Regions from separate parts of the Homo sapiens genome. Here regions 1 and 3 are each linked to region 2. The links are contacts of gene promoters, found by promoter capture Hi-C in blood cells and fetal thymus (Javierre and others, 2016). All regions are on one chromosome and are shown on one strand. Each heading gives the region's core, a stretch centred on a gene start or on the middle of the fragment in contact. The rest is flanking DNA. Distances are from core to core; before and after follow the strand shown.

The links. The method cuts DNA at HindIII sites, captures the fragments that hold promoters and counts their contacts. A CHiCAGO score of 5 or more calls a contact.
Region 1: a contact is called between the fragment with the promoter of FANCG here and a fragment that was not itself captured in region 2, in 3 of 17 cell types (M2 macrophages, neutrophils and naive B cells). The highest score is 6.5, in M2 macrophages.
Region 3: the fragment with the promoter of SPATA31G1 here is called in contact with a fragment that was not itself captured in region 2 in 2 of 17 cell types (M0 macrophages and M2 macrophages); the score reaches 6.2 in M0 macrophages.

The regions. Positions count from the first base shown.
Region 1 is chr9:35,078,692-35,082,742 of GRCh38, reverse strand. It overlaps FANCG (FA complementation group G), which reads left to right and starts at 2,801. Exons shown (of 14, transcript NM_004629.2): 1 at 2,801-3,302; 2 at 3,502-3,592; 3 at 4,007-4,051. The coding sequence starts at 3,219. RefSeq lists enhancers at 1,349-1,955, 3,172-3,779 and a silencer at 2,931-3,096. The HindIII fragment of the contact is 2,060 bases long and covers 2,022-4,051 here.
Region 2 is chr9:34,901,696-34,905,929 of GRCh38, reverse strand. It overlaps a transcript of PHF24 not described here. Among named protein-coding and RNA genes, the nearest start is that of SPATA31F3, 8.0 kb to the right of the region's middle. The HindIII fragment of the contact is 3,777 bases long and covers 317-4,093 here.
Region 3 is chr9:35,040,885-35,044,717 of GRCh38, reverse strand. It overlaps SPATA31G1 (SPATA31 subfamily G member 1), which reads right to left and starts at 2,478. Exons shown (of 2, transcript NM_203299.4): 1 at 2,233-2,478; 2 at 1-1,857. The coding sequence starts at 2,463. The HindIII fragment of the contact is 2,574 bases long and covers 1,395-3,833 here.

The DNA.
Region 1 (4,051 bases), core at 1,552-4,051, 180 kb before region 2:
TTTTTAAGAAACTGCCAAACTTTTCTGAAGTGAGTGTACTATTTTATATTCCCACCAGCAGTGTATGAGGGTTCCTCATACACATCCTCACCAACACTTGGTATAATCTGTTTTTATTGTAGTCATTTTATGTATGTATGTGTATAGTGTTTTTATTTTTATTTATTTATTTTTGAGACAGAGTCTCACTCTGTCACCCAGGCTGGAGTGCAGTGGCATGGTCTCAGCTCACTGCAACCTCCGTTTCCCAGGTTCAAGTGATTGTCATGCCTCAGCCTCCTGAGTAGCTGGGATTACAGGTGTCTGCCACCATGCCCAGCTAATTTTTGTATTTGCAGTAGAGACAGGGTTTTGCCCTGTTGGCTTGGCTGGTCTCAAACTCCTGGCCTCAAGTGATCCACCTGCCTCAGCCTCCCAAAGTGCTGGGATTAAAGGTGTGAGCCACCACGCCCGGCTGTGTGAAGCGTTTTTTTATTTTTTGAGACGAAGTCTCGCTGTGTCACCTAGGCTAGAGTTCAGTGGCAGGATCTCGGCTCACTGCAACCTCCACCTTCCGGGTTCAAGCCATTCTCCCACCTCAGCTTCCCAGGTAGCTGGGATTACAGGCATGCACCACCATGCCTGCCTAATTTTTGTATTTTTAGTAGAGACGAGGTTTCACCAAGTTGGCCATGCTGGTCTTGAACTCCTGACCTCAAGTGATCCATCCACCTCAGCCTCCCAAAGTGCTGGGATTACAGGCATAACATGGCCCGGCCCTGGCCATGTTTTTAACTGTGTTTCTCTAATAGCTAATAATGCCGAGCATCTTTTTATGTGTTTCTTAGCCATTAGTAGATCTTTTTTGGTAAAATGTCTTTTTTTTTTTTTTTGGTCCATCTTAAAATTGTTTTTTGTTTTGTTTTGAGACAGGGTCTCACTTTGTTGCCCACGCTGGAGTGCAGTGGCTCAATCATGGCTCACTGCAGCTTCGACATCCCTGAGCTCAGGTGATCCTCCCACCTAAGTTTCCCGAGTAGATGGGACTACAGGTGTGTGCCACCATGCCCAGCTAATTTTTGTATTTTTTTTGTAGAGGTGGGGTTTTGCTATGTTGCCCAGGCAGGTCTTAAACTTCTGAGGCTCAAATGATCCTCCCACCTCAGCCTCCCAAAGTGCTGGGATAACAGGCATGAACCACCACACCCAGCTAAGATTGTTTTTAAAAATCTTTTTCTTGAGTTTTGGGAGTTTTTATGTGTTAGGGATACCAGTCCCTTATGAGGTATATAATTAGCAAGTAGTTTCTCCCACTCTGTGACTGTGACCTTTCTTTTTTTGAGGCAGGGTCTCACTCTGTTACTCAGGCTGGAGGGCAGTGGTGTGATCATGGCTCACTGCAACCTGGAACTCCTAGGCTCAAGGGCTCCTCCCACCTCAGCCTCCCAAGTAGCTGGGTCTACAGGTGTGTTATTGTGCCAGGGTTAATGTTTTAAATTTTTTGTAGAGATAATGTCTCTACAAAAGACACCATCTTTGTTGCCTAGGCTGGTCTTGAACTCCTGGCTTCAGGGAATCCTCCAGCCTCAGCCTCCCAAAGTGCTGGGATTACAGCATGAGCCACATCCAGCCTATGATTTTTCTTCTTTTCTTTTCTTTTCTTTTCTTTTTTTTTTGAGATGGAGTCTCGCTGTTGCGCAGGCTGGAGTGCAGTGGGGCGATCTCGGCTCACTGCAGGCTCTGGCCCGCGGGGTTCACGCCTTTCTCCTGCCTCAGCCTCCCGAGTAGCTGGGACTACAGGCGCCCGCCACATCGCCCGGCTAATTTTTTGTATTTTTAGTAGAGACGGGGTTTCACCGTGTTAGCCATGATGGTCTCGATCTCCTGACCTCGTGATCCGCCCGCCTCGGTCTCCCAAAGTGCTGGGATCACAGGCGTGAGCCACGGCGCCCGGCCCCAGCGTATGACTTCTTAATGATGTCTTTGTAGTACAAGAGTTTTTAATTTTAATAAAGTTAACTTTTTTTTAAATTGTACAAGCTTTTAGTGCTGTGTCTAACAACTTGTTGCCAAACCCAAGGTCATAAAGCTGTTCTCTTACGTTTTCTTTTTTTTTTTTTTTTGAGACGGAGTCTCACTCTGTCACCCAGGCTGGAGTGCAATGGCACGATGTCGGCTCACTGCAACCTCCGCCACCCGGGTTCAAGCGATTCTTCCGCCTCAGCCTCCGGGGTAGCTGGGATTACAGGCGCACGACACCACGCCCTGCTAATTTTTGTATTTTTGTAGAGAAGGTTTCACCATGTTAGTTAGGCTGCTTTACGTTTTCTTTTAGAAGTTTTATATTTTTGGCTCTTATATTTAGTTTGTGATCCATTGAGTTGATTTTATGTACGTATGTATGGTCGCGTTCTTTTCTTTCCTGTCTTTTTTTTTTTTTTTTTTTGCATATGGATATTCAATTCTCCTAGCTCCATTTAATTTGAAATGATTGGGCAGGTACTTTTGAGCAGTGCAAGTACAGAGCGGCACTGCCAGCAGACTACACGCGGTAGAAAGCCGACCTTGGTGAGCGTGTTGGTGCTCGACAGTGAGCAGAGAAAGGATGGACGATTACGGAGCGCCCTCGTCTCCAGTTACCGCTTTCTGGAAACACCATCCGCCGGGGCGGAGCTGTTCCGCCCCGGTGCGGTACTACGACTCCCAGCATGCACCTCGCAGTCGGCCCTCGGTGGAAGCGGGAACCCAGGAGGACCTGGGGGTGTGGCAGCGAGGAAGGGCCGAGCCACGGACTGTGGGGCCGAAACTCGCTCCCGCCCACCCTTTCTCGAGGCTGTGGCCTCCGCGAGAGCCGAGCGGGCCGCACCGCCGGCCGTGCGACTGCCCCAGTCAGACACGACCCCGGCTTCTAGCCCGCCTAAGCCTGTTTGGGGTTGCTGACTCGTTTCCTCCCCGAGTTTCCCGCGGGAACTAACTCTTCAAGAGGACCAACCGCAGCCCAGAGCTTCGCAGACCCGGCCAACCAGAGGCGAGGTTGAGAGCCCGGCGGGCCGCGGGGAGAGAGCGTCCCATCTGTCCTGGAAAGCCTGGGCGGGTGGATTGGGACCCCGAGAGAAGCAGGGGAGCTCGGCGGGGTGCAGAAGTGCCCAGGCCCCTCCCCGCTGGGGTTGGGAGCTTGGGCAGGCCAGCTTCACCCTTCCTAAGTCCGCTTCTGGTCTCCGGGCCCAGCCTCGGCCACCATGTCCCGCCAGACCACCTCTGTGGGCTCCAGCTGCCTGGACCTGTGGAGGGAAAAGAATGACCGGCTCGTTCGACAGGCCAAGGTAACACGGTTGCTGGCACCCTCGGTTTGCAGCCTCAAGATCCCTGAAAGCGGGTTTGCAGTGGATTTACCCCAACCGATGGGGAGGGACTGAGCTTGACCAAAGAGCCAGAAATGACTGGAGAATGCATCCCTTGCCACTGCTGCAAGGGGAGAAAAAAGGATTGATCCTCAGTGACAACCCCTCCCTCATGTGGCAGGTGGCTCAGAACTCCGGTCTGACTCTGAGGCGACAGCAGTTGGCTCAGGATGCACTGGAAGGGCTCAGAGGGCTCCTCCATAGTCTGCAAGGTAGGCGGGTCCTCCCCAGGATGGTCAGTTCCCCTCTTCCATAGCCAGAGAAACATCCGCTCCTGCGTTTTTGGGATCGATATAATTACTCGGGGCAGGGAGTCCTGTTTAAGGCACAGAGGAGACTGGAGTGGAATCATCTTTGTACAGGCAAATCCCTCTCTTCCTTACACACTCACAGAGTGGCATTTGAAAAATGGTTTCCAAGATGGTCTGATCTGGATAACTTTTTTGCCCTTTCCAGACTCTCTGTCCAAAGGTTGGGTTCTTTTTTTAAATCCTTAGCTAATTGGCTGGAGGGTGGGTTCTTTATTGTAGCTGTTTTGGTTGGAGTGGGGTGATCTCTGAGTTGGGATTTTATTTGGAGGATCTTCCATGGGGGAGCAGTCTGTAAGACCAACATTGTTGCTCCAGGGCTCCCTGCAGCTGTTCCTGTTCTTCCCTTGGAGCTGACTGTCA
Region 2 (4,234 bases), core at 956-3,455:
ACAGTTCATGTCCACGTGACACAGAAAAACATTCCCATGAGGAGATATCCACAACCCCAGTTTCCACACGAAGACAAAATAAAATCTAAAACTCAGTTAATTAAGATCAAATATATACAAAATAAAATGCACTCAGAGTAAAATAAATATTTCAGGAATCCTTCTGTTATTTCTGCATGTTATCATTACACAGAGACACCAGCAGTTTATGCATGTTGATTCCTGCATTTTGGATCACTCCCTCTTCCAACTCCACATATTAAAATCCTCTCTCAGCTTCAAGCACCAGCTTGAATGCCATCTTCTACATGAAGCTTTCCCAGATCACTTCAGCCAAAAATAATCTCCCCTTTACAGGAGATTTATATAGCAACTTTATATAATATTTATAAGGAGATTATATACCACATACTCTCAGATACCGTATTATTGTATAGATACCTATTATTTCCCACTATGCTGAAAGCATGTAACTTTTAAGTTATCAGAATTCACTTCTACATACTTTTATATCCCCTACAGTGTTTTATTCAACAAATAGGTTTTAATGAACACCACTTTTAGCTAACAGGGAAAAAACTAAAGCACAGGAGAGGAAGGCGGCTTAGATGAGAAATGGGGGTGCTTGTTCTCCTCTGGTAGGAGGTCAGGTTGTGGTCATGCCAGTAGTCTGGTGTTTAGGATTGCCCTCCCTGCCTCTGCAGCTGGTCAGGAGGGTGGAGACTAACGAGGGGAATCAGAACCAGGAGCCAGCTTTCAGCTTTATAGGCAGGCTCCATTTTGTCAAGGTTCTCTGAACCAAGTGGTTTCTTTGGGATGGATCCACTGTAACTAAACTAAAAAGAGACTGAAGCATAAATCAGAATGCTAATTTACTAATTTATAGTGATAAATGTAACTCCAACGAACCTGGCCTACTCCCACCTGCTGGTCAGGGCATTCTCTCCTTCTAGGTCTATTTACATTGCAAGTTCTAGGCTACTCAGAAGTGTCTGATGAATGTGTAATCCAGTCAGTGCTGTGAGTGCATAAACTAGAAAACCTAGAAGAGATGAATAAATTCCTGGAAAAATACAACCCTCCTAGCTCAAATCAGGAAGAATTAGGTACCCTGAACAGGCCACTAACAAGCAATCCTTTTGACACTATTCCACAAGACAGAGAAAGAAGGAACCCTCCCTAATTCATTCTATGAAGCTGGCATCACTCTAAGACCAAAACCAGGAAAGGACATAACCAAAAAAGAAAACTACAGACTGATATCCTTGATGAGTATAGATGCTAAAATCCTTAACAAAATACTAGCTAACCAAATCCAAGAACATATCAAAAAGATAATCCACCATGCTCAAGTGGGTTGCATACCAGGGATGCAGGGATGGTTTAACATATGCAAGTCAATAAATGTGATATATCACATAAACAGAATTAAAAACAAAAGTCACATGATCATCTCAATAGATGCAGAAAAAGCATTCGACAAAATCCAGCATCCCTTTATGATTAAAACTCTAAGCGAAATTGGCATACAAGGGACATACCTTAATGTAATAAAAGCCATCCACGACAAACCCACAGCCAAAATAATACTGAATGGGGAAAGGTTGAAAGTATTCCCTCTGAGAAGGGGAATAAGACAAGGATGCCCACTCTCACCACTCCTCTTCAACATAGTACTGGAAGTCCTAGCCAGAGCAATCAGACAAGAGAAAGAAATAAAGGGCATCCAAATCAGTAAAGAGGAAGTCAAACTGTCACTGTTTGGTGACAATATGATCGTCTACCTTGAAAACCCTTCACTGTTTGCTGACAATATAATCGTCTACCCTAAAAACCCTAAAGACTCCTCCAGAAAGCTCCTAGAATTGATAAAAGAATTCAGCAAAGTTTCCAGATACAAGATTAATGTACACAAATCAGTAACGCTTCTATACACCAACAGTGACCAAGCGGAGAATCAAATCAAGAACTCAACCTCCCTTACAATAGCTGAAAAAAAATAAAAATAAAATACTTAGGAATATACCTAACCAAGGAGTCAAAAGTCTTCTGCAAGGAAAACTACAGAACACTGCTGAAAGAAATCATAGATGACACAAACAAATGGAAACACATCAATCTCATGGATGGGTAGAATCAATATTGTGAAAATGGCCATACTGCCAAAAGGGTCATGAGTGGAACAATCTCAGGTGCTAGTGTCACTGGGCTGTGACAACCTAATGCCTTTCCTGCAGTTGGGGGACACACCTGATGAGAAGAACTAGGTGTGTACCAGGATGACACTGGAGACCTTTGGATCCAGCCTTGCTCTTTGGTTCCTGTTTTTAAAAAATTTACTTTATTTCATGTCATTTTATTTTTGAAATAGGGTTTAGCTCTGTAGCTTGGGCTGGAATGCAGTGGCACAATCACAGCTCGCTGCAGCTTCAGCCTCTTGGGCTCAAGTGATTCTCCTGCCTCAGCTTCCTGAGTAGCTAGGGCTACAGAAGCATGCCACCATGCCCAGCTAATTTTTTATTTTTTGTAGAGATGGGGTCTTGCTGTGTTGCCCAGGCTGGTTTTGAACTCCTAGCCTCAAGTGTCCTCCTGCCTTGGCCACCCGGGCTCCTATCTTAAAATTTATTTTATTACTGTCCTTCTTTTAAAAAACTACTGGATATGTGAATAGTCTGCAATTTCAAACAGCTTATTTATAATCATTCTGAGTATTTATATCCTCTTAACTTGAATGAAATAGAGGTGGCAAGGACCTTAGTGGAGTTTAGAATCAACCTTTTTATCTATCTCTAAGTTGCTGTGATGGGCTAGTTATTTTACTTCTTGGTGATTCAGTTTCCTCTTGTATAACGTGGGATAACAATACCTGGGTCTGGCTGGTGGTAAGCACTGAATGAGGTGAGGCGTATAACAGGCCTGGCACTGGGTAATGCTGCTCAGTCAGGGTTAATTCCCCTTTCTTCCTTGTGTTCCTGAATTCTTTGACCTTTATTTATAGTTCATTGTCTAGGTTAGCTCATCGCCAGAGATGGCCAAACTCACCTATTATATGAGGACTTTTCATAATATTATCCACAGAGATTTGCTGACACCCTATTAACCACCTCCCCTCCCCAAGAAAGCTCTTTTCTTTTTCTTAATTGAAATCTGTCATAGATAGGAATAAAATTTCAGAACATTTAGAAACATTTTAAATGGTGAAAAGGATACAGCTACTGAAAACATTTTTGAAATCATGACTAAAATTTCATTTCATTTATTTATTTTTATTTTTTTGAGACAGGGTCTTACTCTGTCGCCCAGGCTGGAGTGCAATGGTGTGATCATGGTTCACTGTAGCCTTGACCTCCCAGTTTCAAAAGGTCTTCCCACCTCAGCCTCCTGAGTTGCGTAGCTGGGACTACAGATGCATGCCACCACGTCTGGCTAATTTTATAATTTTTTGTAGAGATGGGGTCCCATTATGTTGCCCAGGCTGGTCTTGAACTCCTGGACTCAAGTCATCCTCCTGCCTCATCCTCCCAAAGTGTTGAGATTACAGGCATGAACCATCATGCCCAGACTAAAATTTCATTTTTATGGGAGTTTCTTTTAGATGCATTATTGAGGCAGATGGAAATGTAATTATTTTGTTTGGTTGAGTAGTAACTATCAGTAATATTTAATAGGATAATACATTTTATACAAGAATAAGAATATAAATTCATTTTTACAATCATAGTAACATATTTTCAAGGTATAAACAAAATTTAATCATTTTGATTATAAGATCTTCATGTGTATATTATTAAATCAAAAGCATTTCTACATGTTTATTTATTTACGCATGACTCTGTCTTCTGAGTTTTTACTTTATTAGTAAGGTATTTGAAAACATTTTTGGAAGATTCTGTTTTTAATTATCTTTTTACTAGGGAAAATTTCAAATAACATACCTCCATGTACCTGTCACCCAACTTCAAATTAATATTTTTTAACAATCTTGTTTCTTCTTTACCCCCACACTAGTTACCTCCTCGTTTTGAAGTAAATTCCAGATATCAGAAATTTATACCATTAAATATTTTAGTATGCATCTCAACATATACAAGCTTTTACAGTGACAGAGCTACCATTACTAAACCTAGAAAGTTCAAAATAGTTTCTTCATATCATCAAATACCCAATCAGTGCTTACATTCCCTTGATTGGCTTATAAATTTATTTTTATTTTCTGGAACTCCTGACATCAGAT
Region 3 (3,833 bases), core at 1,229-3,728, 140 kb before region 2:
TGGTAGAGGAGTAGAGAGTGAGCTGGGGGCTGGGAGCTCAGTGGCCCAGTGGTTCTTTCTTTGCTCCACTGCCTCCCCGTCAGGCTTATAGTTGCTTTGGTCTGCGATAGGCTCACTTACGTGGGACTTTGAAACAGAGTTTGAGGATGGGCTGGAGCCCCTACCTGGGAACACAGGAACACAGTTTTCTTTTTGCTCCATTTCCCCTACAATAGACTGAGAATCAGACAAGACTCCCAGAGGGCTGGCTCCATGCAGGTCTTGGGGTAAGTTACAAGCTGGGTGCTTAGAGGCCCAGGAGTTTTTTGTCTTTTGTATGTCCCCACATCTAGCTTCAGAATCAGACAGGACCCCCATGGATCTAACTCTGAGCAGCTCCGGTGCAAGAGCTGGGGGTGGGCTGAGGGCCAGAGATGGAGACCTAGAAGCCGAGGAATTCCTGGAATGCTCAGTATCCTTCCATGTAGCTTCTGATGTAGCGAGGCATTCCCCAGGATTGATTCTGTGTGGTTCCATAAGGGTGGTTGGAGGTGTGCTATGAACAGGGTCTGGGGAATCAGATGCCCAGAGGTTCTCTTTCTGCCCCATGGTCTCCCACAAAGCTTTGGATTCAGACAGGACTCCCTGGGGGCCCATTACTAGAGACTCCAGGAGAGGGACTGAGGGAAGGCTGGGAGGTGAAACTGGGTCTGCAGGGACCCAAATATTTTCTCTACTTTGCATGCCCTTCCATGGTGTCTCAGATGCTGGTGGGACACATTCAGGGCTGGTTCCAGAGAGCTCTGGGTTGAGGTCCAAGACTGGAGACTCAAAAGCCCAGAGGTTTCCTGAGTTTTCTCTGCATTCCCACTGGGGCTTATATCTGGATGGATCTTCCAGGGAACTCTCTCTCTGGAGTTCTGGCAGGGAGTCTAGGGGAGGGCAAGGGACTGGCATTGAAGACTCAGAGGCCTGAGGTTTCTCTCTGTATCCCACGGTTCCCCAGAAGTCCTTAGATATAGCAAGTCCTCCTTCAGGGCTAACTTTTCTGGGTTCTGACAGAGAAGCTGGGGATTGGCAGGGGGGTGGCATCGGAGGCTCAAAAGCTTGGGGCATCTTTTTGTGTCCTGTGGTTTCCAAATGAGTCTCATATCCAGGGAGAACTTCCAGGGGGCTAGTTCCAGGGGACTGTGTGGGTGCCTCAGCGCCAGATAAAACTCCCTTGTGGTCCACAGGGAAGGGCCTCAGATGGAGGAGTAGTGATGAGACAGAAGGAGAAGATGGAGGTGGAAGCAGCTGAGGATCGGGGGCCATCCCTTCTAGATCTTCCATAGTATGGGCCCCATGGGTAGAAAACTGGGCTGAGGAGTGATACTGGGGAAGCAACAGGTTGGACCTAGGTAGGAAGGCAAGCTTGTTGAAGAAGACAGAAGAACAAACAGACCACTTCAGAGGAGAGGGGCCACCTGAGCTCAGGAAGATGGCCTCCAAGGACTCGCTGTGCAGAGAGGGGAGACCCCAGAAGAGCTGGCTTTTTCTCTGCTGCTGGCGGTTCCCTGATGCTATCTTGTGCCTCACAGGAAAGCTGGTCAGAATCTGGAAGATGGGGAAGGATCTGGAAGGGCTCACGGGCTGCATGACTGTTTGCTCTGGTATCCCTATAGCCTTGAGGAGGCCCTCAGAACCACAGGATGGCTGGGGTGGGGCTGGAGTGGCTTGCTCTCCAGTGGGAGCTTCTTTGGTAGGAGAACATGGCTTCAGTGGATCCAGAGATGCCTCGTCTTCCCCCTCTTCCTCTTCTTCCCCTTCTTCCTCCACTTCTGATTTCTGCTTACACAGGTGATCAAGGAAGGCCACACGGTGCAGAAGTGGTAGTTCCTGGGAAGTAGATAAAGATATTCTCAGGCATGAAGCCTTTTCAGATACACAAGGTTTGCTATGAGGCACTCAGTCTGCTCCATATCCAGAGTGGACAGTTACTCACCTAATCCCACGTGTGTGGCCAGTCACCTACACAGCTCCTCATCTAGTGTTAATGGTCATTACCCAGTCCTCATTTGGAGATCAGTATTCCCTCATTCTACATCTAGAATCCATGGTCACTCACCTGGCTTCAAATCTAGTGTCAGTGGTTACTCACCCAGCCTCACATCTAGGGCTTATAGTCACTCACCTGGGCCCACATTCATACCAATGACCTCACATGTGGTGTCAGCAGTCATTCATCCAGCTGTACAGTCACAGGTCACCCACCTTGCCTTGCACCATATTCCCAGAGCACCAGGGATGAAGCTGTCGCAACCTCCCAAGCTGCCACCATCTCTGAATCTGCCAAACCACGAATAAGAATAGTGTCACCAGATTTCCTGGACTCTGGAAGCAGCTGCTGCCGCAGTGTCTGCAGGCTAGGGCATGGGTCAGTTGGCCCCAGAGAAGCCCCATATCCCCCTTAGCCCCAAGCAGGTCCTCCAGCAGCCATTCCATTTCCCTTAGCCTTCTGGCAGTTTACCCTGAGGTCATCATTGCATCACAGAACAAAGAACTCCCATCCCCCACAGAGGCCTGGGCTTAACAGCCTTCTCCCTGAATTTAGAACCAAAAAAAATTTCCTCTATCAGGCAATTCATGCTTCACACAGTGAAATGTGGGTGATCCCCTTTTGATTGCCCAGTTCAGAATTATGCTTCAGGCATTGTGGTTAAGTACATGGATTCTAGCACCGAACTGCCTTATTCAAATCATAGCTCTGTCATTTTCCTACCTGTGAAAACTCAAACTACTTAATTTTTTCAGTGCCTCATTTTTCTTATCTATAAAATAAAGATATCATTATCTTTATTTTATAGATATTTATTGTTATTATTTTGAGACAGAATCTCACTGTGTCACCCAGGCTGGAGTGCAGTGGTGTGATCACGACTCACTGCAGCCTCAACCTCCTGGGCTGAAGTGCTCCTCCTGCCTCAGCCTCCTGAGTAGCTGGGACCACAGGCATGTGCCACCGTGCCCAGCTAATTTTTATATTTTTTATTTTTGTAGAGACAGGATCTCTCTATATTGCCCAGGCTGGTCTCGACTCCTGAGCTCTAGGGATCCTCCCGCCTTGGCCTCCCAAAGTGGTGGGATTATAGGCGTGAACCATCTTGCCTGGCATATTATTCTTAGAGGCAAGGTCTCATTGTATTGCCCCGGCTGGTCTTGACCTCCTGAGCTCAAGAGAGCCTTCCATCTCAGCCTCTGAGTAGCTGGGATTACAGGCATGGGCCACTCTACCCAGCACAATAATATTATTACTTACTACACAGGGTTGTTTTGAGGATGTAAAAAGTAAAGTAGAGGTTCCTCTTCAAAGACTTTCCTCTCCATCTTATTAGGAATAAATAGTAACATCTCTTAGAAGCAAAATTTATTCAAAGACCTCTGTTAACATTCTTAAATATCTGCTAGCCGTAATAAATCAATTTACTTTATGTTCTTAGCTTCCACAATTTAGCCTAAATATTTGCCCTGGCATGCTTATATTGGTCCAAGCAAGCATTAGGTCATAGCCTGTTCCTCTTCCTTATTTGAAGGTGTTTTTACCTTTCTCAGCATTCCACAAGTTAACTTCCTCCTTCCTTTGTTCTCTGCCTTTGCCTCTTTTTAAAAAGTTCTAAGTTGTTAGCCAATCAGGACAAATACAGAAAGCGAGGTCCTGTTCCAGCCAATGGAAACCGGACACAGCAGTAGGGTGGATGCGTCAGGCTATAAATGACCCTGCCTCCTTTGTTCGGTGTACTCTTCATGGCAAAACTGCTGGTGAGTGTACCGTTTCTGCAGAAAGTAAAAATAGCCTTGCTGAGGAAATTAAATTT